Linked DNA regions of Homo sapiens: region 1 is linked to region 2. Evidence: promoter capture Hi-C in human tissues and cell types (Jung and others, 2019). All regions are on one chromosome and are shown on one strand. Each heading gives the region's core, a stretch centred on a gene start or on the middle of the fragment in contact. The rest is flanking DNA. Distances are from core to core; before and after follow the strand shown. Region 1 holds the start of FAM83C (family with sequence similarity 83 member C). Region 2 overlaps TRPC4AP (transient receptor potential cation channel subfamily C member 4 associated protein).

Region 1 (3,079 bases), core at 189-2,688, 240 kb after region 2:
GCTTCAGAAGGGAAGCTGTGCTCGTGTGTGGCCAGAGCCTTTCTGGGTGCTGACCACCCCTACCTGCCCTCCCAATTCTCTTTCTCCTGAGCTCCCGCTCCCCATCACTGAGCCCAGCAGCCTCCTCTCCTCCTTCCTCCTTGGTTCCAAAGCCCAGCCCTCAAGGCCACGCCAAAGAGGCCCACACGCTGGCCCCTTCCCCTGCTTCAGGCCCAGCTGCAGATGTGGTGCAGGAGGGTAGGGGGCAACTAGGGACCTGAGCCAGCAAGGAGGGCCGGACTGGTCCCCAGGACCCAAGTCAGAGAGCCCCTGTCTCCCCAAGCCCTGAGCTCTATGTCACCATATGGACCTCCCTGGGCAAGTCCCAAGCCCCTCTCTGGCCTCAGTTTCTTCTTCTATAAGTGAAGGAGGTGACTCAGATGTTCCCCAAGGTTGGAGTTCTTAGTGTGGGGATCATAAAACTTTTTGAGAATCTGATTTAAGGCAGTGGAGCATCTTCCAAGGTAAAGATGCAGCGAGGACTCCTCCCTCCAACCTGCACCACTTCGTGTGCATTTCAGGGGATTGTGGAGTCCCTGACACCCATGCCCTGTTCTATGCTCATCCATACTATTCCTGGGTACCAAGCAGTTGCCAAGGTAAATATGGGATGTCCCCCTTCTAGGAGTTTGCAATCTAATAGTGCCAGAGGTGCTGGTCCTCATTCTGCCCCTAAGTCGCTGTGTGGCCTTGGGCTGGTCCCTTCCCTCTCTGGACCTCAGTTTCCTCCTCTGTGAGATGAGTGATGGAGAGATGAGGCCCTTACCGTGTGGGCCTGGCTGAAAAGGAAGCGCAGCAGGTCCTTGATGTTCTTGGCCTTGTCCCTCTGGAAGTGGACCACAGCCTGGGTGGGGCTGAAGCCTGTGGCCTGTGGCACCTCGGGCCAGCCCAGGTCCAGGTCTGGGGGGTCTATGTCAGAGGCCATGGGGAAGTAAGTCCCTGAGGTGACTTCAGAGAGCAGGCTGAGGCGGTCTGGCCCGGAGGCCTCCTGCCCCTGAGCCTCGCTGAGCTCAGGGCCCCCGCGCACATGGCTGGTCATGTAGTCCACATCCAGGGCGCTCAGGAAGGGCAGCTCCCGCTCCTCGGAGATGACCCGCAGGTAGGCAGCCTCACCCCGCTCCAGGAGGGCGTCGGCCGCCAGCCGAGCCGCCTCGCTGTGCCGCAGCACCAGCGGTGAGCTCTCCCGCCACCACGGCAGCTTCAGCTCTTCCACCCGGCCCCGCAGGGGTCCCGCCATGCCCTGGGCTCCCAGGACCCCAGGCCCCGGGCCTCCGAACATGCCTGCCACGCGGCTGCCTCACCCGCCGGCAGGGCCCATGGCCCGCACGCTGGGCTGGCTGCAGCAGGAAGAGGAGACCAGCAGAACCGCCTTCTGCCCGCCCGCTCGCTGTGTGTGTGGCAGGGCCCCCAAACTGTTGCCACCCTAAATCAGAGCCACGCTCCACCCTATTGCCCCTGGCCTCTGGAACCTGTCAGGTCAGCCCCACCTGTCTGCCTGTGTTGGGACTCGCCTGCCCAGGGAAGCGGCAGTGCCAGGCCCTCGGTGCACACTCCTGCCTCCCTCTCTTCCTCCCAGCAACGCCGCCCCATCCCCACCAGGCTCCCAGCAAGTCTCCAAATGCTGACTTCCCGGGACCCACAGAGGTTGAATTACAGCCAAGAGGGGCCCAGGCGACTCAGGAACACACACTCACACGCACACGCACACACACTGCAGGTGGGTGAGCGACTCAAGACACCCAGGAAAAGACATGAACACCCATGCAGATGGACACACTGACAACTGACCGATACACAGACATGGAGTGTGGGCTGACACAGACCGACCACACATTGTAATCACATCCACTTGCATAAACTCTTCACCCAAACGCCGATGTAGAGACCGGCCATGACCCCCACAACACATACCACAGTGGATAGCACGTGCCCTGGCTCAAGTCTGCAAGGCCCTGAGAGCTGAACGACTGTCACATGGAATATCCAAGGACATCAACGCTGGTCTGTCCCCCAGCCAGCCCTCTTTTTGCTCCCATAATCGTCCTGCCACTCTCCATCATCTTAACTGTGGTGCTCACAGCCCCCTGGCTCTCTCCCACCCCGGCTCGGAGCTGTCCTTCAAGAACCTAGAGCAGTGGCTCTCACCCTGACCCCAGGGGTGGTGAGAGGTGATGAAATGCAGATCCCCGGGCCCCACCCTCCTGGAAATTCTCATCCAGAAGGTGTCCGTAGGCTTCTGGAGCTTGTCTTTTTTCTTTTTCTTTTTGAGATAGGGTCTTGCTCTGTCACCCAGTCTGGAGGGCAGTGGCGCAATCACAGCTCACTACAGCTGTGCCTCAGTTTCTCTGGACTCGAGCGATCTTCCCACCTCAGCCTCCTGAGTAGCTGGGATTACAGGTGCATGTTACCATGCTCGGCTACTTTTAAAATTTTTTTAGAGATGGGATCTCACTATGTTGCCCAGGCTGATCTTGAACTCCTGGCCTCAAGCAATCCTCCTGTCTCAGCCTCCCAAAGTGCTGGGATTACAGGTGTGAGCCGCCACACCTGGCCATTTTTCTTTTTTAATTGAGACATGATCTTGCTCTGTCACCCAGGCTAGAGAGAGCAGTGATGTGATCATAGCTTACTGTAACCTCAAATTCCTGAGTTTTTAAACAAGTGCCCAGTGCACTGTGGGCAGTGGGCTAAGGCCCACCCCTGAGACATGCTGTTCCAGATGGCTGTGCTTGCAACACCCTTAACTCCAGGGATGTTCTTGGCCTGGTGGTGGCCAGACCCCAGCCTTCTTCCCCTCCTCCAGGGCTGAGTATGAAAATGGTTGGAAGGTTGTTTCAGAGAATGGGCGGACACACTGCAAGGTCAGGAGGCAAACAGGGCAGGTAGATTTCTGACCTCTGCCCCAACAAAGATTAAAGTCCTGGAGCATGTACCGTGTGTCCTTCGGAGGATGGTGAGCAGCTTTGCTCTGGGGAAGGGGGTGAGCAGGTGACAGCTGCAGCTGGGGAGCCAGGCTAGGCAGAAGCGGTCACCACCTTTC
Region 2 (2,758 bases), core at 22-2,521:
ACTCAATGCACAGGACCTGGTAGCAAGGGTATCAGTGAATGTGCCCAAAACGAGTGCATGATTCCTAGAAGCTCTCATGAATCCCATACTCGCCTCTATTTCTAGTAATGGAGGACAGGAATTTGCTGTGCAGGGGGCATTGGGGAACAACTGCTTCCACTTTTCCTTTTCCCTAGTACAAAACAAATGTAAGCTACTACTATTATTGGCAACTGTAACTTGTAGCTCACCAGTTCCTCTAGCCCTGTCTAACTCAGTATATGGTTCCCAAAACAGGTCCCACCACCCCCAGCCCACTTCTTATGGTTTTTTGTTTTGTCTTAAATTTTAAGATTTTTTTTTTTAAGGCGGAGTCTCACTGTGATGCCCAGGCCAGAGCGCAATGGCACAATCTCTGCTCACTGCAACCTCTGCCTCCTGGGTTCAAGCAATTTTTCTGTCCCAGCCTCCCAAGTAGCTGGGACTACAGGCATGCACCACCATGCTGGGCTAATTTTTATATTTTTAGTAGAGACAGGGTTTCACCCTGTTGGCCAGGCTGGTCTCCTGACCTCAAGTGATCTGCCCACCTCGGCCTCACAAAGTGCTGGGATTACAGGCATGAGAGCCACTGTGGCTGGCCAAGAATTTACTTCTTATGTTTTAATTTTTGATATGTACAATACGTATTATGCAGCACAACAAAATGACTAGCTGTGTGTGCCTTTCCTATTGCATCTCTCTGCCTCTGGGAACCACCATCATTAATTATTATTGCCTTGCCATTTAAAAACTAGTTTTATCAACAAATAATTTGCTTTTTTGAGCTTTATGAAAATGATATACTACCTACAGTGTTCTGCAACTGGCTTCTACCACTCGATTATTTCAATTACTCAGCTATGTTGTTGCCTATGGCAACAGTTCATTCATTTCTACTATATAATATTCCATTGTGTGAAGAAAGTACATTCATCCCTTCTCCTATTCATGGATCAGAGACTTGGTTTCAGTTTTTTGTTCTGAAACAACGAAGCTACAAATGTTCTTATGTGTTTCTTGATGCACAGGTGGAGAAGTTTTTGCTGGGGCAGTGGCTTCTAAACTTTTTAGCTATCACCAAGAACGACCACCAGTAAACATACATATTGGAATGTATATAGAAATGTCAAACAAAAACTTATTCAAAAAATACCCTTACACAATACAGTTTGATCTTTTCTACTTGGCTGGTAGACCCGATGGACTGACTTTACAACCTTCTGGGTTTCAATCCTAAGAATCACTGTTCTAGGACTGAGCTTCCCCACAAGTGTGTCCAGGCACAGGTTATAGGTAACCCATGGCAAAATACTGATGCCTCAGCCCTCAGGGTAAAGCTTCCCTAGGTGCTGGGGCACAAGATATGTGCCTGTTCAACTACAAAACAAAAAAAAAGAGGATATTCTGCTGATAAACATTTATCAGTAGTATACAAGTGTTTCCACTGATACACACACTCACCAACATTTGCCCACTCTCTCCCTCACTATGGTATTGATTTGCATTTCCTTGATTGCCAATCAAGTTAAACATCTTCTCTTTTATGTTTATGGACCATTTCTTTCTTGTCTGTGAAATGCTTGTTCATAACATTGCCCATTTGTCTACTGGGCTATTTCTCTTTTTCATGCTGATTTGTAAGAATTCTGTTTTTTTTTTTTTTTTTGAGAGGGAGTCTTGCTCTGTTGCCCAGGCTGGAGTGCAGTGACATAATCTTGGCTCACTGCAACCTCTGCCTCCCGGGTTCAAGCAATTCTCATGCCTTAGCCTCCCAAGTAGCTGGGACTACAGGTGTGCACCACCATGCCTGGCTAATTTTTGTATTTTTTAGTACAAAATGAGACTGGGTTTTGCCATGATGGCCAGGCTGTTCTCAAACTCCTGACCTCAAGAGATCTGCCTGCCTCAGCCTCCCAAAGTGTTGGAATTACAGGCATGAGCCACCGTGCCTGGCCTGTAAGAATTATTGATAAATTCTGAATACAACAAATCCTTTGTTGGTTACCTGAATTCAAATGTCTTTTCCCAGTTTATGGTGTTTCCACTTTCTTTATGGTATCTATCCCCCTTTCAAACTGCACCAAGATACCCATAATGTTTGGTGGAACACCTCGCCATTTTGGGGTACACAAAAAGGAATGAGAGGGAGTGAGAGGCAAGTGGGAAAAGTTGTGAAGGAGCACTTCTAGACTCCTATGCTGAGACTGCTAAGGAGTCTGGAGTTTCCACTCTGGAGGTCCCCTTTCACACACTGGCTGGAACACACAATTACTGGAATAACAACAAAGCCTTTTTATCAAAGGGCACAAAGGGTCTGTCTGGGGCCTGCACACATCTCCAATGTGTTCCTACAGACAATAGGCCACTTGTGCTGGGCAATGACAAGCAAGGCCTGGGGAAAGCACAGCAAGAAGAAATGAACGCTGGGTTCACCACAGTGCACATGAACATCCACCTCCCTGCAACAGCAACCTCTAGGAGGCTGCTCAACAGGAAGAGAAAGAAATCTGCCAACCAGCAACCAACATGGAGGCTCAGGACAGATTAGGACTGGGGAGGTGAGCTCCAGGTCCTAACAAGCATTACACCAAAAATGTAACACAGTAAGTCTCTAACAGAGATCTATGAATGTATTTTTGGGTATCTGTGAATTCTTGAAATTTTTAATTTAGTTTTCATTTCGATCATAGCTGTTTTTTTTTTTTTTTAAAGTTATGGGTCATCCGAATATTAACCT

Evidence for each region. The method cuts DNA at HindIII sites, captures the fragments that hold promoters and counts their contacts. A contact is called where the count stands out against the background at its distance.
Region 1: the fragment with the promoter of FAM83C here is called in contact with a fragment that was not itself captured in region 2 in 1 of the 25 tissues and cell types used here (aorta).

Annotation. Positions count from the first base shown.
Region 1 is chr20:35,290,987-35,294,065 of GRCh38, forward strand. FAM83C (family with sequence similarity 83 member C) reads right to left here and starts at 1,439. Exons shown (of 4, transcript NM_178468.6): 1 at 806-1,439. The coding sequence starts at 1,318. The HindIII fragment of the contact is 12,597 bases long and covers 1-3,079 here.
Region 2 is chr20:35,046,543-35,049,300 of GRCh38, forward strand. The region is part of intron 6 of TRPC4AP (transient receptor potential cation channel subfamily C member 4 associated protein); the gene reads right to left. Among named protein-coding and RNA genes, the nearest start is that of TRPC4AP, 45 kb to the right of the region's middle. The HindIII fragment of the contact is 4,051 bases long and covers 1-2,758 here.